Linked DNA regions of Homo sapiens: region 2 is linked to region 1. Evidence: promoter capture Hi-C in human tissues and cell types (Jung and others, 2019). All regions are on one chromosome and are shown on one strand. Each heading gives the region's core, a stretch centred on a gene start or on the middle of the fragment in contact. The rest is flanking DNA. Distances are from core to core; before and after follow the strand shown. Region 1 has its middle 42 kb from the start of LINC02832. Region 2 holds the start of SPEG (striated muscle enriched protein kinase).

The links. The method cuts DNA at HindIII sites, captures the fragments that hold promoters and counts their contacts. A contact is called where the count stands out against the background at its distance.
Region 2: the fragment with the promoter of SPEG here is called in contact with a fragment that was not itself captured in region 1 in 2 of the 25 tissues and cell types used here (H1 embryonic stem cells and dorsolateral prefrontal cortex).

What each region holds. Positions count from the first base shown.
Region 1 is chr2:219,684,650-219,690,553 of GRCh38, reverse strand. It overlaps the pseudogene DNAJB6P3. Among named protein-coding and RNA genes, the nearest start is that of LINC02832, 42 kb to the left of the region's middle. RefSeq lists enhancers at 1,696-2,259, 1,380-2,579, 2,260-2,823, 5,573-5,867, 5,644-5,904 and 1 more. The HindIII fragment of the contact is 9,661 bases long and covers 1-5,904 here.
Region 2 is chr2:219,432,282-219,438,185 of GRCh38, reverse strand. SPEG (striated muscle enriched protein kinase) reads right to left here and starts at 3,343. Exons shown (of 41, transcript NM_005876.5): 1 at 2,821-3,343. The coding sequence starts at 3,208. The HindIII fragment of the contact is 17,008 bases long and covers 1-5,904 here.

The DNA.
Region 1 (5,904 bases), core at 1,692-4,191:
CTACCATTCCCATGCCTGGTATCAGGGGACCACGTAAGTAAGCCTCTTGCTAGGGTCCCCCGCCTGGGCCCCAGGCTCAAAGGAATGCAGGTAAAGTGACCGGAGGAAGCTCCTGCACTAGCAAAGAGGGCCACATACCACAGCAGATCCCAGTCGGGGCCGCCCAGCGGCCTGCTGGCCTCCTAGAGAGGCTCCCTAGCAACATGGAGTCAGCGTGCTCGGAACCCTTGACTTCACAGAAGCATTAGGTGAGCGCTCAAGGGCTTTTTGTGCACCAGAGGCAGTAAAATGCCATGTTTGCCAACATGTGAAATGCGCGGGGATATCAGATACATCTCAATTTTTCAGAAAGTTTTTTGGAAAAATAAAGACTAAGCTGTAAGGGAAATATTTTATTCCTATAAATATAGTACACAGGATTGTGACTCCATTAAAAAATAGTACGGTTTTGATACACAGTCTAGTATCCCTAAAAACAAGAATAAAATCACAGAGCTAAAAAGAAATATCTTGGTATTTAGGAATATGAGTTGCAGTGAAAAAATACTTAAATTCATAACATAGGGGAGTTACTCAAATTCCATATTCATCTGTGTGGTCTCTGGTTTTTGTTTTGTTTTTTGATAAGGGGATGAAAAGCGCTCACATTTGCAAAATGTATGTTGCCATCTTCTGCCACTAGGGGGTAGCATGCCCCATTATTTTACCTCTTTCTCAGCCTTCCAGCTGTGCCTGATACCAAAGCGTAAGACTGACAAGAAAACTTGTGTATATAATAAACGATTAGATATCGTACAATGCCATATATTTGATATATGTTATGTGTATAGTATTATGTAATACGTAATATATCTTATGTTGTAACATATACATTATTCATATATAAAGTATAAAATTTTATTTTGCATATATAATCCATCATTTGGGAAAAGCGGGGAATGTATCCTATATACCAGTAAACACAGCAAGCCTCACTAGTGCACAAAAAATCTAGTCGGAGTTCACCTGCTTCTATTAAAAGATTGAGGGCAGCTCTGCTTGATGTTAAAGGAGGGATTAGGGCTATTAGGATCTTCCCAGTGGAAAGCTCCAGAAAGTTTGGACCACCTAGAAGGCTGCGTGGTCACCGACCGGCTTGTGGAAGGAGAGGGAGGACGGGAGTCATGGGATGTACAGACTCAGTAGCCAAGGAATCTGAGAGATGCCCAATCTAACTCAGAAGCCAAGAGGCCGGAGCACCGCAAGGGCACAGGGAGCCCTGGAGCCTGAGGGAGAGTCCAGAGCTGCAGGCAAAGCCGTGTCAAGAGTCCAGGCTTAGAAACAGCCGCAAACCAACGCTCCAAATAGCTCAATGCGTCACATAGTCGGAATCTCAAAAATGTGACTTTAAGTTCATTTCCAAAATAAGACAAGGAGTGGCAGAAGGGAGATTCAAATTCCAACCTGTTCAGACATTCTAAAACATAAAACCCTGAATGTTTGGGGGCAATTAATCCAGAAAACATCTCAGTCAGCTTCTAACATCTGCCGCTGGAGCGAGGATGGAAAGCACTGGAAATGAAGGGCTTTCCTGGATCTGGGAATCTGGGTGCGCAGGCCAGTTCCCAACGCGCATGTGAACATCGCTTTTCTGCAGTCAGGACTAAAGCTGCCTTCCACATGGTCCACGTACATGAGGTCCGCACACATGAAATGTCTTTGTGCTGCTTCTCAGCATACATCATACTTTTCCCATGAATCATTTAAGACCAAAAAAAAAAAATACCTATGAGATAGGTATTAATATCATACCCACTGTACAGATTAAGAAACAGACACAGAGAGCTTAAGCAACTTGCCCAAGGTCACAACAGTGAGTGACGGTGCCGGGAGTTAACACAGAAAACTCTTTGTATTAGTCTGTTTTCATACTGCTATAAAGAACTTCCCGAGAATGAGTAATTTATAAAGGAAGGAGGTTTAATTGACTCACCGTGCAGCATGGCTGGGGAGGCCTCTGGAAATTTACAATCACGGCAGAAGGTGAGGGGGAAGCAAGGCACCTTCTTCACAAGGTGGGAGGAAGAAGGGCCGAATGAAGGGGGAAGAGCCCCTTATGAAACCATCAGATCTCGTGAGAACTCACTCCCTGTCACGAGAACAGCATGGGGGAAACCACTCCGTGGTTTAATTACCTCCACCTGGTCTCTCTCTTGACCTGTGAGGATGACGGGGTTTGCAATTCAAGATGAGATTTAGGTGGGGACACAAAGCCTAACCATATCACTCTTCTTGCTTCAGAATTGCCTGTTCTTTCTGCTACATTTGCTGCCTCCAAAAAAAGTATTTCTCTGAGCCAAGAAGTGTATAAAAAGGCAAGCTTCAATGAGCACAATAGATTTGTACACATCAGAGGCATTCGAACCAGAGTGACTCCATTTTGAACAGTGGCTGGGTGAAATGAGGCTGAGACCTGCTGGGCTGCATTCCCAAGAGGTTAGGTAATCTTAGTCACAGGATGAGATAGGAGGTTACGCCGGGCGCGGTGGCTCACACCTGTAACCCCAGCACTTTGGAAAGCCGAGGTGGGCGGATCACGAGGTCAGAAGATCGAGACCATCCTGGCTAACACGGTGAAACCTCGTCTCTACTAAAAGTACAAAAAATTAGCTGGGCATGGTGGCGGGCGCCTGTAGTCCCAGCTACTCGGGAGGCTGAGGCAAGAGAATGGCATGAACCCAGGAGGCGGAGCTTGCAGTGAGCCGAGATTGCGCCACTGCACTCCAGTAGTCTGGACAACAGTGCAAGACTCCGTCTCAAAAAAAAAAAAAAAAAAAGACAGGAGGTTGGCAGGACCATTATCACAAGATACAGGTCACAAAAACCCTACTGATAAAACAGGATGCAGTAAAGAAGCTGGACAAAACCTGCCAAAATCAAGATGGTGACAAAAGTGGCCTCTGGTCATCATCACTGCTCATTGTACACTACTTATACATAAGCATGCTAAAAGACACTCCCACCAGCACCATGACAGCTTATAAATGCCATGGCAAACTCTGGAAGTTACCCTATATGGTCTAAAAGGAAAGGAATCCTTAGTTCTAGGAAATCCTCCCACCCCCCGCCTTTCCCAGAAAACTCATGAATAATCCACCCCTTGTTTAGCATATGATCAAGAAGTAACCATAAAAATAGCCAGCCAGCAGCCCTCGGGTCTGCTTTGTCTATGGAGTAGCCATTCTTTTATTCTTTTACTTTCTTACAAACTTGCTTTCACTTTACTCTGTGGATTCGCCTGAAATTCTTTGTTGTGTGAGATCCAAGATCCTTCTCTTGGGGTCTGGATTGGGACCCCTTTCTGGTAACATATACATTAAAAAGAAAAAAACAAACAGGCAAACATAATAGAATTTTTCCAAAGGCTAATGGGTAGCCAGGGGTCATGAGAGAAAAAGAACAGGAATTAGGGAAGAAAGAAGGAAAGGATTCGAATCATAAGACAGGAAGATGGGCACTAACCTCATAAGTATATTTTCAAAGCAAGCATAAGAGGTGCCTGCTGGCCAGGCGCCGTGGCTCACGCCTGTAATCCCAGCACTTTGGGAGGCCAAGGCAGGCGGATCACGAGGTCAGGAGTTCGAGACCAGCCTGGCCAATATGGTGAAACCCTATCTCTACTAAAAATACAAAAATTAGCCGGGTGTGGTGGCGCTCGCCTATAGCCCCAGCTACTTGGGAGGCTGAGGCAGAAGAATTACTTGAACCCAGGAGGTGGAGGTTGCAGTGAGCCAGGACAACAGAGCGAGACTCCATCTCAAAAAAAAAAAAAAAAGTGCCTGCTGCATTTGGTGGCTTAAAGTTCTTAAAGTTCTGAGGGAGTCTTTGGCCAAAGAATGGAATCAGGAAAGGTGCCTTGGTATGTAAAATGAGCTGAATCAACAACAGTGGAAGGAATGCAGGAAAAAGGCGGATTTCTGCCCGGTCTAGTGGCAAAGGACAGCAGTGAAAGCAGGGGCACTCCAGGGACTGAACAGAAACAAAGACTCTAAGAGCAAGTTGAGTCTCTCCACAACTGCACAAAGCCACATTCTTTGCCTAATTACTTAAGCCAGAGTGTGTTCACCTGGAAATTTCCTGCTGGTCAGAGGAAGCAGTTTTGTTTCTGTTGTTGATGTCTTGGTTGAGGGAGGGGCTCCAGGTGATTGTAGCAGACAGACAGGGCAGGACAACAGGGAGCAGGGAATGTGGCATGCCGGATGCCACGATTCCACACACCACAAGTGGTTCCATTTCAGCCCAGAAATGATGAGACTAGCCTGGGATTTGCTACTTTTCCCATTCCTCCTGCTATGTTATTTGCTTTAATGAGAGAGACAAAGGGAGAGGAGAGATGGACAGAGAGAGAGAGAGAGAGAGAGAGAGAGAGAGAGAGAATGTGTCTCTAACAGTAAGAAAATAGCCATGTATCCATCCAACAGGAAGGCAGGTAAAGAAAGGGGGAAGGCCAGGCACGGTGGCTCACGCCTGTAATCCCAGCACTTTGGGAGGCCGAGGCAGGCAGTTAGCCTGAGGTCAGGAGTTTGAGACCAGTCTGGCCAACGTGGCAAAACCCTGTCTCTACTAAAAATACAAAAAAAAAAAAAAAAAAATTAGCTGTGCGTGGTGGCGTGCGCCTGTAATCCCAGCTACTCCGGAGGCTGAGGCAGGGGAATTGCTCGAACCAGGGAGGTGGAGGTTGCAGTGAGCCGAGATCACGCCACTGCATTCCAGCCTGGGCAACAGAGTGAGACTCCACCTCAAAAAAAAAAAAAAAAAAAGAAAGAAAGAAAAGAAAGAAAGAAAGGGGGAAAAGTGGTCACTGAGAAATTTCCAGCAAAGACTGGCCTCCTGGAAACCTTGGCATGTCCCTGGAGAGGCTGCTGACTGCACCGTGTGCCGAGTCCTGCCTTGGCTGATGCTCACCATCTCAGTCCAGAGGGGAGGCTGTTGCAGCGGATCAAGTGAGGCTGAGTCAAGCACTCGGGGCAGATTTAGTGCCTGCCGTAACCTCATCTAGTTATGTTGTAGGACTTTCTCCTTAGTTCAGCTAAAAACGGGGTCCTTGTCACATAGCCAGGAGAGATTAGGCTCACAGGCACTTTGAAGGGTGAGAAAAATTGAATTTATTGGGCAAAGAGGAAAAAAAGGAAATAGGAACTCCCAACAAAGTGAAAGTCCTACTAGCTGGCTTCCTGCCTCACAGATTGAATCCCCAGGGTACCAACCCAGAACAGGAGAGGCCAAGCTCCTCCCCACTGCAAATAGTGCGAGCTTCCGTGGCTCCACCCTCCTCCCAGTGCGTAGGTGGATCCGAGCCGCTCCGGCGAGCCCTGACTACCTGTCTGTCTCAGCTGCACCTAAATTACCTGCTTATAGAAGACTGTGGTTTAGTCTACCCAGGATGCTTTACCCACTGTCTTCTCCTGACCCTTTGGGGAACTCACCCTCACTCTTTGTGGCCCCTTGAGGCTATCAAACACTTGGTGACGTTTCAGGTGGAGACCCTGCCCACACTTGTGATTCAGAGGTCCCCAGATCTCTCTGTCTGTGGTGAATTGATCGGGAATCAGCCAACCCAGGCCAATGGTGATCTTGTCAAGGCCAGATACATGGATAAGAGGCGAAAGAGAAAGGAGAGCACAAGGGGCTGCCACCGCCACCACCAGCACAGTGTGCGGGAGCCCAGAGGAGACCTGGGCTGTCTCCCTGCCTCCTCTTTCCAGCAATCTGCTAAAACAGGGTGGATTACCAAGAAGTTCCAGGCATGCAGAGACATGCCTCACCTGAGGACATTAAAAAGGCATATTGGAAACTGGCCCTGAATTGGCACCCAGAAAAAAAAAATACCCTGAGAGGAAAGAAGCAGAGAGAAAATTCAAACAA
Region 2 (5,904 bases), core at 2,094-4,593, 250 kb after region 1:
CTTTGTTTCCGATTCTTCCCTCATTTCTACATCCCCCAAATCTCAGCACCACCACCCCCAGTTTCCCATCCTCCAAATTTTCCAGGCTGTAGCCCACTTGCCTTCTCATGACCCCAACTTTCCAGAGCCATGCCCAAATCCTTCCATCCTTGAGCTAACATATCCGGCTTCAGGAGTGCCAGGAACCTAGCATCACTTTGTCTTATTGAGCCAGCAATCCCAGCCAGGAAAGCATGTCCTTCCGTCTGCAGCCAGGTCCTTGCTTGGCTTCCTCGAGTACCCTGAAGTCCTCCTGCTGTTGTTTCCAACCAAGAAAGTTTTCCATGAGTAAGTCTGAGCAATGCCGAGCTGCTTGCCCGGCTGCCCTGGAGCAGGAGCTATCACTGGGCAGGGGCTGGTGGGGGTGGGCAACAGAAGGGATAGGAAGCCAGATTCACCCAGTCAGTCCCCCAGCATCACCAAAGCAAAGCCCCTCCCTCCTCCAAAGCATGTGGGATAGGTGTAATAGTTACACACATGGTTCTTTGCAGTGGGACAGACTGAGGCCTCCACCTGTTCTGCCACCTTCTATCTACACAATCAGGACATGTTCTCAAAGGTTATTTGCTGCAGCCCAGTCCTCTTCCTATTCTCATATGAATGTCAAAGGGCCCCTGATCCAGCCCCACAACACCCAGGGCCCTTTTCTTACCCCAAGCCTCTCAAGCCTGCTGTTCCACCAGAGCAGCCCAGCCTGCACACTGTCAGCCTGGCCTCTGTCTAGGTACGCCCAGCCAGGCTCAGCGCTGCTGACCACACCACCAAGACTGCAGAGAGGCTGAGCAAACAGCCCTGCTGGGGGCTCTCACACCTCATCACCACTTACCACTTTGAGGGACCAAGGCAGGCCAGGAGACATCCATCTTGAGAAATGCCAGGCCTGGGCCAATCATGTGACAGCTACTTTCCCAGTACTCTCCCTCCCTCTCTCGCTCTTTCCTCTCTCTCCAGAACTTCTTGAGGAGTACAAGGCCCCCAGAACCAAAACCAGGAGGACTGGGTTCTTAGTTCTGGGATGGCCATAACTAGCTATGTCTCTAACTAGACTAGTACGTCTTAGGCAGAGCTCCCTGATCTTTGGCCCACAGTGTCCTTGCCTGTGAAAGGATGTGTTTGGAGCTGCAGTTCTCTGTGGTCCTTTCCAACCTTAACTTATATTATGACTGTTACTCTCCTTGTCAGCTCTTTCGTTCCCTTCCCTAATCTCTCCCCCAGTCATATTCTCATCAACTCATCTATCTTACCCTTTGATCTATGTTCTATTTTCAGCCCTCTTTGCCCCTGGGGGGACCAGAGCTGAGATCCCCAAGGAGTCCACACCTTCCCCAGCTCCGAAGTCTGCTAGAATGCACCCCATCCCCTGATCCCAGGCTCGGGAGGCCTGTACTTGTCCAGGTGCTAGGCCAACCAGGAGACGCCAGCCTTGGCCCTCTCTGGCCCAGGCCTGGCCACAGAGACTCCAGGAAGGTGGGCAGAGCAGGGCTGGGGGGAGGAGATGCCGATGGAGGGAGGCCAGCCCGGCTCCCTCTCCTGACTTGGCTGTGTCCTAGAGACTTCTTGCCCACCTGCTGCTGAGGGCTTTCCTCCCTGTGCCTCCTCCCCAGCCTCCAAGGATTTACCCCTACACAGCAGCACCCAGGGGAGTGACATGTCCCTCTTAGAAACGTCCAAGGGAGTGAACCCCCAGCTCCTTGCCATCTCTCCCAGCTGTAGCCTACTTCCTCAGAATTCTGTTTCTCAAGGCGCAGCCTGCCCAAGGCTCTGCCTTTGGCTAGAGAAGTACCACTTGGCTTACTCAAGGACTGAGGAAATCAAAAAGGAAGCCCCCAAATGGATCCAAGGCTAACGGCCCTGGCCTGGCCTCCATGGTAGCCCCAGCTGGACCATGAGCACTGGGCCCAGCCTCTTGCCCTCCCCTTCTGCCTCAGACCCTCAGCCTTTTCTTCACACTGCACCTGGAAATCTATGGGCGGGGGACAAGCACTGGTCCATAGCATCCCCCTTCCATGCTCTGGAAACATCCACTCTGGAAGCTCAGGTAGACATGGTCCAGGAGCTTCCCATTCCAGCTCCACGTGCCCATACCTCACCTGTTTGCACCACCACACAGAATCCAGGGCCCTCCACAGCACCCATGCAGGCACACACCTGCATGTGGATTCTCAAGCACTCACCTCCATTCATGCCCATGGGGCCCTGGCTCGGGCTCCACCTCCTCCTACCCTGGACCCTGTTCACACGTGGCCAACCATAGGCCTCTTCCACACCCCACCTAGAGCTGACCACATCAACCCTGCCACGGCAATGGCCTGCAGGGAGCTCTGAGCCATCCCTTCAACAGTGCAGCCTGGACCAGAGGAGCTGGCCCCCTCCTTCGGACATGGACTCCCCTGTTAAGGAGCTGATCGGAGTGTCAATCTCAAGTTTAAATCATGGAACTGAAGGACACCCTTTCCCCCAGGAGGCTTTTCTCCACAGGAGGAGAAGAACTTCCACCCCAGAATTCCCTGAGAGGTGGGAGTGGGTCTCAGGCTTGGCTTATCAACCGCTTGCTGCCCCTTGACCTCTGACCTTCCTGTGGGGAGCCTCTCTACCTTGACACCCCATTCCCTGCACTTGGCTCTTCGTCTCACTTCTGGGGCCGGGCAGCCGAGAAGCCAGGGCACCTGGGAAGAAGGCGGCGGAACCAGTATCCAGTACCTTACCCGCGTGGCCTGGGCAGCCCTTTTCTACCTCTGAGCACCCCGCCCCTGCCGGGCGCGGCCCCCACCTGCCCTTTACCTCCGACCTCCAGCACTGTGAGCACCGCCTCGCAGGAGGCCCGGCCCCGCTCGTTCTGGGCCATGCAGCTGTACACGCCGGCGTCCTGCGCCCCGCAGCGCCGCAGCCACAGGCAGCTGGGCTCGGGGGCCGGCGCGGGCAGGAGCTGCCCATCCCGGAACCAGCGGAGGCTGGGCTGGGGCGTCCCGCTCACCACCACCCGCAGCCGCACGTCGCTGCCCGCGCACACCGCCGCGTTCTTCAGGGGCCGCAGGAAGACTGGCGCCCCGGCCACGGCCACAGGAGCCCCGCCGCCGGCCCCCACCTTGGCCCTTTTCGGGGGCACTCCGGGGCTGGGGGGTGCCCTCGTGCCCGCATCCTCGCCTCGCGTGCCCCGGGCTTTCTGCATGGCCACTGAGAGCTGGGCTGGGGGGACGCCGGAACTGGGCGGCCACGGGGGCACCCGCGGGACGGTGCCCTAGGAGACAAGTCTGGGGGGCCGGCGGCCTGCCTTCCTGCTGCCCGCCCGCCTTCGGCCTGTGCTACCCAGAAGGTCACCGGGGCGGCCGGCGATTGCGCCTGGGGGCTATTTTTAGGCCCCCCGGCTCGGGTTGCGAGGGAGCCGTGGAGGGAGGGGGCAGCAGGGGAGGGACTTGACTCCACTTGGCTCCTTCTCTCCCTCCAGGAGCCCCCATCGCCGGCCCGGCTTAAGGGAGTCCCTCGGTATTTGTTCCAGGCTTTCCCCTCCGTAGTGTGCCTGGCCCCCACACGACCCACTGCAGGGAGTCAGGTTACCCCTGGGCTCAATCCCATTTCCCTTCCTCCCTCATCTCAGACCCCTCATCCCTGCCCGGCTTCGCTGGGAGGGGAAGAAGAGGAACGGTCCTGGTGAGATGCCTGAGAGGTGGATGGGGAGGCAGGCCCAAGTGGAGGTGAGCAGACAGCTCCGAAGAGGGACCATGGCCTCCCCCAGCGCCTCCATTACAGCTGGCGAACAGTAAGACCAGGAGCCTGGGAGTCAGGTGGATTGGGGCCTCCACTGCGCCCTGCCCTTACTTGCTGGGTGACACCAAACCTCTCTCAACCTCCAAGTCCTCATCTGTAAGAATGGGTGGTGGAATAGGGTTGCAATAGGCAGAAAAGAGTGGGCAGGACATTCCAGGCAGAGGGAACGGCATGAACAAAATGAGCCTGATGAAAACAAAGGCGTCCTGGGAATTAGAGAGGTTTGGAGGGATTGAAGCGTAGTGGGTGGGGTGAGTGGAAGAAGGGAGGTGGGGCCTGGAGAAGGCTTTGTTTGCTAAGGCTTTGGTTTCTCTACCCTGAAAGCAGGGGGCGCCACTACACAGCTTTAAGCGGCAGAAAAAACACGGTGGGAGCTGTGTCTTAGGAGGATCCTCTTGGCGGCCACAAAGTGGAGGATGGATAGAAATGACGGCCAGTTCAAGTAAAGGCCAGATTCCCAGCCTCCTTGCCCCACACTGGTTCAGCAGCTGAGCTGGGAGGAATCTGCACATTTAACAAATGACTCAACTGATTCTGATGTGCCTAAGTGTTGCACGTTGAGAAACATCAAGAGTCCAGATGAGACCTTTGTGATAGAACAGTTCTGTATCTTGGCTGGGCGCGGTGGCTAACACCTGTAATTCCAGCACTTTGGGAGGCCGAGGTGGGTGGATCACTTGAACTCAGGAATTCAACACCAGCCTGGCCAACATGGTGAAACCTGTCTCTACTAAAAATACAAAAAATTAGCCAGGTGTAGTGGCTCATGCCTGTAGTCCCAGCTACTCAGGAGGCTGAGGCAGGAGAATCGCTTGAACCTGGGAGGTGGAGGTTGCAGTGAGCCTAGATGGCACCACTGCACTGCAGCCTGGGCAACAGAGTGAGACTCTGTCTCAAAAAACAAAACAAAACAAAAACAGAACAGTTCTGTATCTTGACAGTGGTAATGGTGGTGGTTATGTGGATCTACACAAGTGATAAAGTTGCATAGAACTAAATGTGCATTTGCACTTGTACGCAACACTAACAGTACATGTAACACTGGTAAAACTTGCAGAAGGTAGGTGGATTATACCAATGCCCCTTTCCTGGTTGTGATGCTGTACTATAGTCATACAAGATGTTACCCTAGGAGGAAACCAAGTGAAGGTAATTCAGGATCTCTCTGCATTATTTCTTATAATTGCCTGTGAATCTACAGTTATCATAAAGTAAAAAATTTTTTAAGAAGTCCAAGTAGGAGACCCAGGCCTGACCTTGAGCCCTGAGGGATGAAACCCAGGAAGGGCTGAGAGGAGCCATGAGTATTCAGAGGCAGAGAATGTTACTCTTACCCTTGCCTCCTCTTCCCCATCCTCATTCTGGGATACTGAAGTCAAAGAGAAAGAGAGAGAGCGCGAGAGACAGTGTGTAAAAGGTATAGGAGGAACCATTTAAACACTGAATTACATCCATAGAGGTTAAGAACCTTGAGGAATAATTTTTTTTACAGTTTGCATACATTAAAGTTTTTTTTTTTTTTGAGACGGAGTTTCACTCTTGTTGCCCAGGCCGGAGTGCAATGGTGTGATCTCGGCTCACCACAACCTCCTCCTCCCGGGTTCGAGCAATTCTCCTGCCTCAGCCTCCCGAGTAGCTGGGATTACAGGCATGCACCACCACACCCAGCTAATTTTGTATTTTTAGTAGAGACGGGGTTTCTCCATTTTGGTCGGGCTGGTCTCGAACTCCCGACCTCAGGTGATCTGCCTGCCTCAGCCTCCTAAAGCACTGGGATTACAGGTGTGAGCCACCGTGCCTGGCCTAAAGTTTATTTTTTTATGAGGTGCAGTTCTCTGGGTTTTGACAAATGCATAGAATCATGTATCTGCCACTCCAGGACCATACAGAGCAAACAATTCCATCACCCCAAATACTAGCTCATGTACCCCCTTCGGAGTCATAGACTCTACCATAGACCCCCTCCACCAACCTCTGGCAACCACTGATGATGAATCGAATTCTAAAGTGTAAATTGAATTCTAGAAGGTGACAATATGGGGGAAGTCATTGCAAACAGATGGTACATCAAGAAAAAAGGAATAGAGAGTATTTCGAAAA